Linked DNA regions of Homo sapiens: regions 1, 2 and 3 are each linked to region 4. The links are contacts of gene promoters, found by promoter capture Hi-C in human tissues and cell types (Jung and others, 2019). All regions are on one chromosome and are shown on one strand. The core of a region is centred on a gene start or on the middle of the fragment in contact, and the rest is flanking DNA. Distances in the headings are between cores, read along the strand shown. Region 1 overlaps EPN2 (epsin 2). Region 2 overlaps B9D1 (B9 domain containing 1). Region 3 overlaps EPN2 (epsin 2). Region 4 holds the start of ALDH3A1 (aldehyde dehydrogenase 3 family member A1).

Region 1 (3,488 bases), core at 489-2,988, 450 kb after region 4:
GCATATTATAGTTAAGATTGAAGGATTTTTTTCTTCTTTTTCTATTTCTATTTTTTTTGCATTTTCCCAATTATCATGAATGGACATACATTATTACATTTGTACCAAAAATCTAGCAGGAGCCAGGCGCAGTGGCTCACGTCTGTAATCCCAGCACTTTGGGAGGCAGAGGTGGGTGGATCACCTGAGGTCAGGAGTTCAAGACCAGCCTGGTCAACATGATGAAACCCCATCTCTACTAAAAATACAAAAATTAGCTGGGCGTGGTGGCACGCACCTGTAGTCCCAGCTACTCGGGAGGCTGAGACATGAGAATTGCTTGAACCTGGGAGGCAGAGGTTGTAGTGAGCCGAGATCACGCCACTGCACTCCAGCCTGGGTGACGGGGTGAGACTCTGTCCCAGTTTAAAAAAAAAAAAATAGAATGAATGACTTCATGCCCTCACTGTACTTGGAGAAGCAGGTCGCAGAGTGGACTTGCGGGAGGAGCTCTGGTTATCCCACTGCAAGCTGGACTAAGCTGGACTAAGCTTTCCATTAGCAGTCAGCAGGAGGAGACTAATTTGATGTGTAATATCAATTTCCAAGCTGCTCCAAGTTGGAGTGTTGCCTAGCTGCCTGTAACTCTGTAAAAAGACACTGCTACGGGCCATGAGTTGAGGGGAGAGGGGAGGAAGAGCCCTTCAACTGATTAAAGCCTGACAGGGAACCAGCAGCCCCCAGCACACTGCTGTCAGTGCCACCGCGGCACCTGGGGCCCTCCCAGAGATTCTAATTTGAGAGGTGTGGGAGAGGTGTGGCCCAGGATTTGGGACATTTTGGGAGATTTAAAAGCTTGAGAGCTAGTGATTTAGGGAAAAAAGGCAACTGTCAAAATGAGGAACTGCCTTGTATCACTAAACAAAAACAACAACTATGAATCATACTGTTGCTAAACTCAACCTTAAAGCATCGAGAAACCACACAAATATATAAGGCATTCCTATATTTCTGGAATTGACTTCAAATGTATTTTTTCTTTTCTTTTCTTTTTTTTCTGAGAGGGAGTTTCACTCTTGTCACCCAGGCTGGAGTCTAATGGCACGATCTCGGCTCACTGCAACCTCCACTTCCTGGGTTAAAGTGATTCTCCTGCCTCAGCCTCCCAGGTAGCTGGGACTACAGGCATGCACCACTACACCTGGCTATTTTGCGCGCACGCGCGTGTGTGTGTGTGTGTGTGTGTGTGTATTTTTAATAGAGATGGGGTTTCACTGCGTTGGCAAGGCTAGTCTCGAACTCCTGCCCTCAGGTGAGGAGAGAGGAGAAGAGAGGCTTATTTAGCACTCATGCATGAAGTATGTTCTGAGCACCTTTCCTGGTTCAGGTGTTGTGCTAAAGACACTAGGGATACAGCACGGGGCATGAACGGGGCTCCTGCTCTAACAGCTTGTTTTAGTGCAGGGAGACAAAACAAAGCAAATAAGAGAATTTCAGGTAGTGAAAAAGACTCTGAAGATAGTAAAAAAGGATATGATACAGAGAGAGATTTAACTTATATGGCCTACTTCCCATGGGAAGACAAATCTATCTGCATGCCTTCCCTCCTGTTTCTAGTCATATAATTTTTTTTTAATGCCTCCTGGAAGTTGTCTATTTGAAACTAGCAACTGCTGTACTGAGCATCCATGAATAAAGACACCGTCAGCAGCTGTGACTATGCTAGCCAATCTGACTTAAAACATCTGACAGGGAACCAGCAGCCCCCAGTACAATGCTGTCAGTGCCACCGCAGTACCTGGGGCCCTCCCAGAGATTCTCATTTGAGAAGTGTGGCAAAGGTGTGGCCCAGGATTTGGGACATTTTGGGAGATTTAAAAGCTTGAGAGCTAGTGATTTAGGGAAAAAAGAAAAGGCAACTGTCAAAATGAGGAACTGCCTTGTATCACTAAACAAAAACTAACAACTATGTATCATACTGTTGCTAAACTCAACCTTAAAGCATCGAGAAACCTTCTACACTTATTGACAGTTTATAAACAATAGTTTGTTTACCTATACTACAAAGGATCCTTAAAAAACAGGTAAATATTGTATTGATCCATTTTCTATGGCACACGCCAATGTCAATCATTTAATCAATAACCCAATCCCCAATATTTTTTTTCTTTTGAGAAAGGGTCTCGCTTTGTCACCCAGGCTAGAATGCAGTGGCACAATCTTGGTTCACTGCAGCCTGGACTTCCTGAGCTCAGGCGATTCCTCCCACCTCAGCCCCACAAAGTAGCTGGGACTACAGGTGCACACCACCATGCCTGGTTAATTTTTTTTTTTTTTGTAGCGATGGGGTTTTGTTGTGTTGTCCAGGCTGGTCTCAAACTCCTAAGCTCAAGCAATTCACCTGCTTCAGCCTCTCGAAGTGCTAGGATTACAGGCATGGGCCACTGCAGCCGGCCTCCCAATCAGCAATTTTGATAGCACTGTTTCTTTTTTTTTTTTTTAAAGACAGAGTCTTGCTCTGTTGCCCAGGCTGGAGTACAGTGGTGCGATCTCAGCTCACTGCAACCTCTGCCTCCCAAGCTTCAAGCAATCTCCTGCCTCAGCTTCCTGGGTAGCTGGGATTACAAGCATCCACCACCACACCCGACTAATTTTTTGTATTTTTGGTAGAGACAGGGGTTTCACCATGTTGGTCAGGCTGGTCTCAAACTCCTGACCTCAAGTGATCCACCAGCCTCGGCCTCCCAAAGTGCTGGGATTATAGGCATGAGCCACCGCGCCCAGCCTTGATAGCACTGTTTCAATTCTGAGAACAATCCCATATTCTGACAATCAGAGGAGCTCCTTAAGATCTGGGGCCCAATTAAATAATGGTTTAATTAGGTATTCCTGGCTGAGTGTGGTGGCTTGTGCCTGCATGCCTGTAATCTCAACACTTTGAGAGGCCGAGGCCAGAGGATAGCTTGAGCCCAGGAGTTCCAGATCAGCCTGGGCAACGTGGCAAAACCCCACCTCTACAAAATACAGAAAGTAAAAAAAAAAAAAAAAAAAAAAAAAGCTGGGTATGGTGGCATGCACCTGTAGTCTCAGCAACCCAGGAGGTTAAGGTGAGAGCATCACTTGAGCCCAGGGAGGTAGAGGCTGCAGTGAGCCACAATCACACCACTGCACTCCAGCCTGAGCAACAGAGCAAGACCCTGTCTTTTTTTTTTTTTTTTTTTGAGATGGAGTTTCGCTCTTGTCACCCAGGCTGGAGTGATCTCGGCTCACTGCAACCTCTGCCTCTCAGGTTCAAGCGAATCTCCCACCTCTGCCTCCTGAGTAGCTGGGATTACAGGTGCCCACCACCATGACCGGCTAATTTTTTTGTATTTTTAGTAGAGATGGGTTTCACCATATTGGCCAAGCTGGCCTCGAACTCCTGGCCTCAGGTGATCTGCCCGTCTCAACCTCCCAACATGCTGGGATTACAGGCGTGAGCCACCCTGCCCAGCCAATCCCATCTTAAA
Region 2 (3,485 bases), core at 986-3,485, 410 kb after region 4:
CATCCCTTCCCCTTGGGGAGCGCCTGCTGGCTTTCACTCTCTGGCTCCCTCCTTGGGGTTGGGGGCTGGTGGGCAGTGCTCCCTGGCTGTGGTCTCCACAGGCCAACTCTGCGGCAGCTGAGAGCCCCTCCCTGGCCTGGGCCCCTCTGCAGCCGCCCCAGGTGAGCGCTGGTGCCCACCTCAGAGACGGAGAGGCCGCGGGGAGGGCGGTGCGTGGGCTTTTGGGTCGGCATGGTTGCCAGCGACCCTCGGGGCCGGGTGTGTCCGTGGGGGGACCTTGGGAGCTGTGGTACAGAGGAGGCGCGGCCGCGAGTCCCGGCGGGGCGAAGCCCGCGGCTGCTGGACCCACCCGGCCGGGAATAGTGCTCCTGGTTGTTTCCGGCTCGCGTGGGTGTGTCGGCGGCGGGGCCTGACACCCCCGGCCTCCTGGCCTCCCGCCTGGCCCAACTGGGGTCTGGGGCTGGGGAGGGCGCATGCTCAGCCTGGTGGCTGTGTGCCGCCCCTGGCAGGGCCTGCGGTGGGTGCCAAGATGGGAAGTGACATGTCCTGGACCCCACACTAGTGGGAGGTAAGGCTGAGGAGCCGTTCTGGCCCTTCTGCCCACCCCACAGACTCTCTGGGGTGGGACCCCCTTCCAGGGAGGCTGGAGGGTCACACTGTCCCCTCCCCTCCCCCACCTCAGCTGCTGTCACTTTTCTGGGATTTCTGGGGGTTCAGGTAGCACCCCCACCCCAGAATCTTCCTGAGCTCTCATTCCCAGTGAACCAAACCCATGGAAGCCAGAGATGGAAAAGCCTAACCGGCCAGCGGAGGCAGCGTGGCTGCAGAGCACATGAGGCCTGGCTAGGCTGTGTGACCTCGGCAAGGGACACCCCACGCTGGAGCCCAGCCACTGGGAAGGCTCTGCTTAGGGCCTGACTCCTGGTGGGGGTGGGGTGCGGTTGGAACAAGAGTGCTGGTTTCTGAACCGAGGAGAGCCCACATCCAGTGTCGTCCAAGACCAGGAATGCCCAGGTGGGGCCCTGCTCACCTGTGTTCTTCTGTGTTCCCAGCTGGTTCATGGGGCGGCGGCCCGAGTACACAGACCCCAAGGTGGTGGCTCAGGGTGAAGGCCGGGAAGGTAAAGCTCCCTCCCCTCTCTTACCCCCATCCCCCATACAGGTTACAGCCTGGGAGTGGGTGGGCCCAGGGTTGGGGTGAATGCCGGGGACCTGCCAGGCACATAGGAGCTAGCCCACAAATGTTCCCAGATGAGGGCCTGGTTGGAGCACAGAGGGTTTGTCATGTCTGCCTGTCCCGGCAGCCCCTTTACCTCCCAGTGAGGGGCTTGGGTCAGGCACTGTTGTCCCCATTTTACAGATGAGAACGCTGAGGCTGAGATTCCCAGATCAACCTGGGTCTCTCTCTGCCCCAGCCCAGCCTGGCTGATGCTGCCCTTCTGTCCCCAGTGACCCGTGTCCGTTCTCAGGGCTTTGTCACCCTCCTCTTCAACGTGGTGACCAAGGACATGAGGAAACTGGGCTATGACACTGGGCCTTCTGATACACAGGGTGTGTTGGGGCCCAGCCCACCCCAGAGCTTCCCCCAGTGAAGGCTCCACAGGCTGCACAGTCTCTGATAATGAAGGGCTGCCTTCCCGAAGTCAGCCGCTGCCCATCGGCCTGAGGGGCAGCCTGGTGGCCAGAGCTGGGGGCACACAGAATAGTTTTGTATAATAAAGTCTCATTTTCAGAGAGCCTAGGCCTGGGGCTGCCTTCTCTCCTGTTTAGCCCCTCCCCCACAGGAGCTGGGGGCTCTTGGGCCTTTCCTGGCCCCACCTCCAGGGCTCTCCCTGTCCCTACCCCTTGTGCCGTGGAAGCTGCCAGGAGACCAGACCGTGCAGCAGGATGGCATGTGGGATGGGAGCTTTGACATAACCAGGTTCTGCCACTCAAAGCTGTGTGGCCTTTTCTATACCGCAACACATTGTTCCTTGAACTAACTGGGCATGGCACCCTCCTTAGAGGCTTGGGGTTAAGTAGAATCACCCGTTCAGCCATGCTTCTGGCCACCAGCCTCCCTTGGCAAGGACAGAACCCTGTTATTGGGAGCTGGAATGGTGAGGTACCCCGGGGGATGGCAGACCCTCAGCCTGCCCACTCCCCTCTCTGCCCCCCTACCCACAGTCCAAGGATGGGGGCTGGAAACCTCTCAGAGGTGGGAGGCCGCTGGCTGGGGTCCAGCTTTCTGGCAGCCCCTTGGCAGGAGAGGAAGGTGAGCCCCCTGGCTCAACACCCTGACCTCTGAGGTTGTCCAGGCCCTTCTGGAAGCAGAGCCCCTTCAGCATTACTTTGGGAGGCCCTGACCCTGGGCCTCCCCACCTTCACAAGAACCCCTCGCACCTCACGAGGCAGCCCCAGGCCCTCTCTGCCCTGCCACTGAGCTTTCGGCAGACATGGTGCCCCAGCCTAGATACTGCCCTCAGCGGGATCCAAGAGAAACCACAGGCTCCTGGCAAACCCCCACCTCCCAGCCTCGCCCATGTTGCCCTGGACTGTCGTCATGGCACTTGCCCTGAGACCATCTGGGCCGACCCTCTTCTGCCTTTTATCTCACGAGCACTCCCGTGCCCTCCCCCCAACTCACTGTGCGTTCTGAAACTCATCGTCTGTTGTCAGCAAAATTCCTGTGATTCCATCTTCTCGGAATAGGAAGTTCCCTCTGCCTTCTGGCCTTACTGAAGCCCACTCAGTACCCTGCAGCCCTCTTAAGTGGAATCTTTTTCCTCCCACTCCCCATGTGCGGTGAGCCTAGAGCAGGGGTGTGTCCTTGCCTCTTCCTCAACCTCCTCACTTGGAACAGTCTGTCTTCACCTCTACCCCTCACAGCCAGGCAGGCATATCTCTTGTTACTGGTGAAGGCACTGCCTCCAAAGTCTGGATTGAGGCATCCCTCCCTCAGGCCAGGCCCTCCCTCATGTGGCGCTTCCCTGTGCTCTTCAAACCACCAGGCCCTCCAAGCTCCTGGCCCAGCCCCTTTTCGCCAACCATCAGCCCCTCTTTCCTTGCTTTCCTCCCAGCCCAGTTTAGAACTCTTGGTCATCTGCATGCACTTCCCATAGTGCCCTCCATCCTTCGTTTATGCTCACCTGGCAAGGTCTCCACCCTGGTGACAGCCAGCTGTTCCTTCGCCTGCCCTGCACCTGCCTGAGCCCCCAGAGCCACAACGGCTCGCGTTCCATCCATGGCCCAGGTCTGTGTTTCCCTAGACAACTCCCTCATGCATTCTCTGAGGAAACTTAACAGCCTTTGTCTCTTCAGGCCTCCAGCACCCTCCCTGCCAGCTTAGCTAAGGCGCTCCCTTCTGTTCCCACAACCACCCCACATTAGCTGCCTTCCTTACCCTACCTGAGGACATGCCTCAGGTGTGTGGGAGATACAGTGCTCTCAAGGGTCTTTCTTCTCCCCTTCTCCCTCCATCGTGAGTTTTCCTACACGGGCTCCTTC
Region 3 (3,194 bases), core at 480-2,979, 500 kb after region 4:
CAAGGAACACAAAAGGCCTCAAGAAGTTGGAAAGGCAGAGAAAACGGGTTCCCCCCCAGAGCCTCCAGCAGGAACCAGCTCTAACTACACCATGACCCCAGCCCATTAAGACCTGTGTCGGACTTCCCGCCTATACAACTGCATTGTTTTAAGCCACTGCATTTGTGGCAATTTGTCACAGCAGCCATAGGAAACTGACAGAGCAACCAATTTCAATGTTTAGAAAGAGGCACAAACAAAACACATCTGTGAGCTCAATCCACCTAAGGACCACTTTTCTAGTCCAGACTGGGCAGAGTCAAGGGCAAGGACTATTTCCTGGGTGCCCAGCACGGAGCCTAGCACACAGCAGCTCTCTGACATTCACCCCAAGTTAACGCAAGGTCCCTTACCTTTACCACATGGTCATAAAATTATCCAGGGATTTCTGGAAAATAGAGCTGCTTAACTGAAAGGAGTTCTATTCCCAAGAGACTGTTTAATCACATAGACATTACCCAGAGGCCTTGGGAAACTGGCCTGGAGTAGAGGAGGGAACATCCATCTCACTGCAAACAGAAAAAAGTGAGGGCTCTTCAGGTCCTCTGGAAGAAACCTCCAACCTCTCCCTCCCAGCCACCCTCAGGGTGCCAGCTTGCTCACTGCAGCTCCAGATAACTTCGGTTGTTCTTCAACAGCAGAGGAACACTTCTCAAGTGGGCTCTTTTTAGCTCCCCACTTTCACCAGCACAGAGATGCTCTGATTAGAGGTGGGGTGGAAGGCCCACAGTCCTGCCCACTCACCGCCAAAAGGCTACGTGAAAACCACAGCCCATGAGTCAAACCTCACCAAGCTCGCCTGTCCTGCCTGGAGAGTCTGGTCAGCAGGCAGCTGGGCCTCTGCCACATGTCCAGCTCTTCCTCCTCTGCGCCCTCCTTGCTCAGCTCAGGCCTCTGCATAATGCAGCTCCCTCGGCCAGGGATCCTCTCATCTCTGTCCCTGAGAACTCCCACTTTTCCTTCAAGACTCGACTCACATACTATTTCCTCGAAGCCTTCTCTGGTTCCCAGGTTCCATTCTAGTGTCTGACACCACTTTCTAAACTTCCCTCCCCCAGCTATCTCCCAAAGCTAATATTACTTGTTACTGAGGCAAGAGCCACCATCTGCAGACCAAAAACTATTTTGAAATGTAAGAGGAACTTAAATTTTATTCACTCAGGCGTTCCCAGCCAACAGCACATAATACATATGTGCTCAATAAGCATTAAGTAAAGAATAAATGAAGTGGACTATAAACTCATTTTTTGACTGAAATACCATATATTACAATGACACTGTGACATGCATTAACTGTACCATGTAAAATCCCACTTCTAGACTTTGACTAATAAACTGAATCTATCTAAATTAGTAACTCCACATTACAACTATCTTTAATAAAATTAAAGAAATGTAATTTAAAATTTTACATGTACCATCTGCTGCAGTCATTACAATTTAGGGTGTGGGGAGGAACTTGGCTAGCAAGCTTGAGAGAACAGATAAGAACCTGCTGTGCCTGCTCTGTGGCTAAAATGCAGGTTGAAAGGAGGCTTGCCAAATAGGTGGATCACAGTCTCTTCTGCCCATCCCTTGTTTAAACTTTCTACTAAGCTGTCCTTCTTTATTTACCAAGGTAGCTTAGAGGCGTATTTCAGCCAGGGTGATCATTTCTGCCAGTTCCTCTCCAGCCCTGATTCCACCAGCCAATCCACAGTCATTCTACAATAGCTCAGGAACCCAGTCCCCGCACCACATTACTTCAAAGGCTTCTTCTGGCTTCAATTTTCCCCTTCCAATCCCTGACACTCCCAGAGGCTCCTCCAAGCACACAGCTCAGCTTCTCAACCCACACAGACTATGAGAATTAACTGGGGGCACTTCTAAAAATTACTGGCTCCCCCTTGATTGGTCTGGGGTAGGGCCCCATCATGGGCATTTTTCTAGCTTTCCAGGCCACATGATTTGCAGGCTCCCAGGGAGTCAAATCCAAACTTCCCAGCCAGCACTGAGGCCCCCTTTACTCCCTAAACACAACTCAACTCTGGCTTCTCTTCATTCTCCATCTCTAGAACTGCTATCTAGCCAGTCTCAGGAAGCCAGTCTGGGCCAGGCCCCCACCCACAGAGATTACTCCGCAGGGCCCCCTTCTCAAACACTTGAGGTGGCACCCACTCAAGACCTACCCTGCTCCCTACTACCCAGAAAACCAAACCCCAAGGCTGCTGTCTCATCAGAGCCAGTGGCCATCTGGCCACCTGGGAGCTCACTGCTCCCAGCAGGCATCCACCCGTCACCAGCTGCAGGAGCCAGCACACACTCAAGCACCTACCCCATCCCATCTCAAGCTTTAACTCCTGCTGTTCCTGAGATCCGAAATACCTTCCCATCTGCCTTCCACTTAGGGATACTGTTTCTTGTTCTTCAAGGTCCAGCTCAAATCCTACCTTCTCCTGATAGCTTCCCTGACTTCTAAATTTTTTCTCCATTCTTGACCCCCTGACAAAGAATCAAAATCATGGCTCAACAAACTGCTAGCTTCTGTCTCACAAATAGTAACTTTGTCTTCTCAATTAGATTAAGTTCTTGGTGGCATTTCATTTATAACCATTATTTGCCTCTAGATCACGTGTTCCATATTTTTCAGGTTGACACTGGCCTCAGTCATGAAACTGTCCTTGAAATGCCCATACTTCTACATCTCCCAGCTGCTTCTCATAAAGTGACATACAAATTCTTTCTCCAATCAGATGTTTCCCAAATTTTGTCATCCATAGTATAGTCATTATATCCCAGGACAGCTCTGAGTATCAAAAAGGCACACAGGGGGCTGGGCGCAGTGGCTCACGCCTGTAATCCCAGTACTTTGGGAAGCTGAGGTGGGCAGATCACGAGGTCAGGAGATCAAGACCATCCTGGCTAACACGGTGAAACCCCCTCTCTACCATAAATACAAAAAGAAATCAGCCAGGCGTGGTGGCGGGCGCCTGTAGTCCCAGCTACTTGGGAGGCTGAGACAGGAGAATGGCGTGAACCCGGGGGCGGAGCCTGCAGTGAGCTGAGATCGCGCCACTGCACTCCAGCCTGGGTGACAGAGCGAGACTCCGCTTCAAAAAAAAAAAAAAAAAAAGGCACACAGGGAGGACTTGCTTTCAGGGGGGAAAAAAAAAACA
Region 4 (3,006 bases), core at 492-2,991:
GCAAAGATAATCAGCTGCTGCCACCAGAAAAGGGGAGAGGCTGGCACAGGCTCGGTCTTCTCCCCTCTCAGGAGGCACCCCACTTTGCACCTACCACCCAGTCCAGCCCCTGCACAGGTGCGAGGTCCTGCAGATGCTTCTTTCTGCTGTTTCTGGAATGTTTCCCATTCTGTTAGTCTTATTTGGGGGTCTCGTCATTTCTTGCCTGCATTGCTGGAAGCTGCAGCCTTTGGGCTAGACCTTTCTCACACTGTGCCCTGTCCAGGGGGTTCTCTAAAACAAAAAATAGCAGACATTTGTCTGTCTGATAATCTCCTCAGCGCCCTGCACCCCCACAGCCAGCCTGGCCCACAGGCCTCCGTGAGCCCCCGCCCCAGGAGAGTCATTCACCTCCACACCTCCTGCTGGCAACAGTGGACACATCGCACTTTTTCGTGACATAACGTTCCCAGCCTCTGTGCCTTTGCTTCTGCTCTTCCAGCCCCCTTGCTGTTCCTTGCCCAAATGCTTCTCACTCAGCTCAGATGATGTTCCCTCCCACGGACTCTCACCCCAGCCCCTCTAGCATCCTCTGCCTACCTGGTTACTACAGTGTTCACATTATTTTGAAATTTCCTGTTTATTTTGTCAGTCAATAAATATTTATTGAGCATCTACTATAAATGCTGTATGGAGGTTACAGCAGTGAACAAATCAAATTCTAGCTGTCAGGAGTTAAGGGACAGGTAGCAAACAAGATATAAACGCTCCAGAGAAAAAATAATGGAGGAAGACGACAGCATTGTGCTATTTTCCACAGCACATTGGAGCGTAGCCGTGTGGGTGGATGTAGGGGAAGGGGGCTCCAGGTGGAGAGAAGCAGGAGGGCCAGAGCACATCCTCAGGACTCGTAGGCCAGGACCGGAACCTTGTGTTTTCCTCGAATGAAATGGGAAGCAGGGACCCCATGCTGGTAAGCAGTCTGCCTGCAGGCGGGTGAGGGTGGCGGGAAGCGCCTGGTGAGAGGGGCCGAGAGTCTGTTCCACACCTGCCTCCTCCCCACAGCGTGGTGCAGAGCAGGAGCCCAGCGAACATTGATCAGACAGCGTGGGAACGGCTTTTCCAGACTCCTTCCTTCCCAAGCATCTCTGGTTTTCGGTGACCACACAGACCCTTGGCCCTCTTCTCAGCTATTCAACGAGAGAGCAGATTTATGGATTGGAGACCCCCATCAAAAGTCCCCAGCCTGTGGCTCCCCAGGGTTAGGATCTCTGACTCAATGGGGCCCTGTGCACACTGGGGGATGTGAAGGGCCCGGGGCAGCGGTGGCTGGGGGTGCGTTTCGGGGGAGCTGCATGCTCTCACTGTGGTTCGTGGCTGAGCCCTGCCGATCTTATGTAACCAGAGAACTCAGAGAACCGCATCTGGCAGCGGCAAGTCTGGAAAGCTGGAAGAGCTCCATGCCAGGCTGAATCAATCAGCAGCCCCCACGCCCAGGGCAAACATAGGCTCTTTTGAAGATTGGAGATGTGCCCTGCCCAAGCCTTCAGAAACATTCTCGCATTTCAGAAGTGAACAAAAGCAAACAGCCCGGGACCTAATCCCCAAAACCTGGGCTGTAGGGAGCAGAGGTCCAGAGGACGCCACACCCCACATTTGAATATTTTTTTTTCTTGTCACGCAAACTTCCTGGGCAGGAACTCCAAGGGCTCAATGGACGGGAAGCAGGGTCCTTAAATACGTCCCCTCTTGGCTCTTGCCGTTCCAGGAGCCCCAGTTACCGGGAGAGGCTGTGTCAAAGGTAATCCTCTTCCCTGCATTCCTTATTTTTTCTCTTGTCTAGGTGGAGTCTGCACTCAGAGCCGGGGCCCTAAGTGTCAAGAGTCCTACATCATCTCTCCAGGGGGTCCCTGCCTCTGGGACCATCATCTCTGGAGCATCCTCCTGGACCTCTGGCAGCTCTGCCATCCCCCAAACCAGGAGGCAGAGGTCCCAGGGATCCGCGGAGCAGGGACACCAAGGTGGCCGTGGAGTGAGAGGCCCTGATGGGCCGTCAGACTCCATGACTGGAAGGAAGGCAGCAGAGCCGAGTGCTAAAGGCATGAGCTGCTGACAGAGATGCATGTGGGTTCAAACCCTGACATGCCACCTGCTAACTGTGAGATCAGATACAGCATTAAACGTTTCTCAGTCTCCCTTTCCTCATCTGTAAAATGCACTCATAACCGTTTCTTCTTCATGGGCATCACTACAGAGCTTTTGTGAGGATGGAAGGCAATGAGGAGGGGAGGAGGTGTCACTGGGGGGCAAAGTCAACACTGGCACAGGTGAGAGGAGCGGGGTGCAGGAATGTGGGGTGTGAGGCGACGGGCTCTGGGGAGGCCCCCAGTGCATGCTGCAGCAGCTCCCATTTGGGTGCAGCTGCGACGTGATGGTGTCCACTCATCTCTGTGAAGTGGCACCTTTGTTAACCTGTCTCTCGGGGAAGTCCTGGGAAGGCCGTCCAGCCCAGAGACCACAGTTCCAAGTGGCGATGCTGGGGTGCAAGGCCAATCCCGTCCCACGCTCACCAGGCTCTTCCCACCTGGGCTGCCTGCCTTGGTTTGACCGTACAAGGCTCGGGAGAGAAGCGGGACCTTCTCTCCTGGGTTGTGGTCAGCAGGAGGGGCCTGGCCCATGGGACTGAGGAGGTCCCAGTGAGGGGGCTTTCCCAGCCTCCTATCAGAACATAGGGAGGGACCATGGAAGGGCCAGGCTTAGAGCACCCTCAATGCCAGCAGGTCCCTCCTCCCTGTGCAGAAAGCCTGGGATTAGGGGTCAGCCTATGGGGAGGGGAGGCAGAGGAAGGATTGGAAGCCACTCGCTGGAATGTAGGCAGGACCATATATCTATATACAATATAATTATATATTACATATGATATATAGGGTTTTTTAAAAAAATGGAAATACCCTATTTCTGCTGATGTTAAAAGTTATGCCGGGTCTGCAAGTGGGCTGAGTATCTCAGGAAGGGGAGTAAGGAACT

What was found. The method cuts DNA at HindIII sites, captures the fragments that hold promoters and counts their contacts. A contact is called where the count stands out against the background at its distance.
Region 1: a fragment that was not itself captured here is called in contact with the fragment with the promoter of ALDH3A1 in region 4 in 5 of the 25 tissues and cell types used here (aorta, dorsolateral prefrontal cortex, mesenchymal stem cells and 2 more).
Region 2: a fragment that was not itself captured here is called in contact with the fragment with the promoter of ALDH3A1 in region 4 in 5 of the 25 tissues and cell types used here (dorsolateral prefrontal cortex, lymphoblastoid cells, mesendoderm cells and 2 more).
Region 3: a contact is called between a fragment that was not itself captured here and the fragment with the promoter of ALDH3A1 in region 4, in 1 of the 25 tissues and cell types used here (lymphoblastoid cells).

Annotation. Positions count from the first base shown.
Region 1 is chr17:19,293,083-19,296,570 of GRCh38, reverse strand. The region is part of intron 4 of EPN2 (epsin 2); the gene reads right to left. Among named protein-coding and RNA genes, the nearest start is that of EPN2-AS1, 11 kb to the left of the region's middle. The HindIII fragment of the contact is 3,874 bases long and covers 1-3,488 here.
Region 2 is chr17:19,341,425-19,344,909 of GRCh38, reverse strand. B9D1 (B9 domain containing 1) reads left to right here. Exons shown (of 7, transcript NM_015681.6): 6 at 1,053-1,120; 7 at 1,449-1,735. The coding sequence ends at 1,591. It overlaps MIR1180 (microRNA 1180), which reads left to right and starts at 336; the gene lies at 336-404. RefSeq lists an enhancer at 2,991-3,485. The HindIII fragment of the contact is 6,595 bases long and covers 1-3,485 here.
Region 3 is chr17:19,246,725-19,249,918 of GRCh38, reverse strand. The region is part of intron 1 of EPN2 (epsin 2); the gene reads right to left. Among named protein-coding and RNA genes, the nearest start is that of EPN2, 11 kb to the right of the region's middle. The HindIII fragment of the contact is 3,795 bases long and covers 1-3,194 here.
Region 4 is chr17:19,747,033-19,750,038 of GRCh38, reverse strand. ALDH3A1 (aldehyde dehydrogenase 3 family member A1) reads left to right here and starts at 1,741. Exons shown (of 11, transcript NM_000691.5): 1 at 1,741-1,780. The HindIII fragment of the contact is 25,713 bases long and covers 1-3,006 here.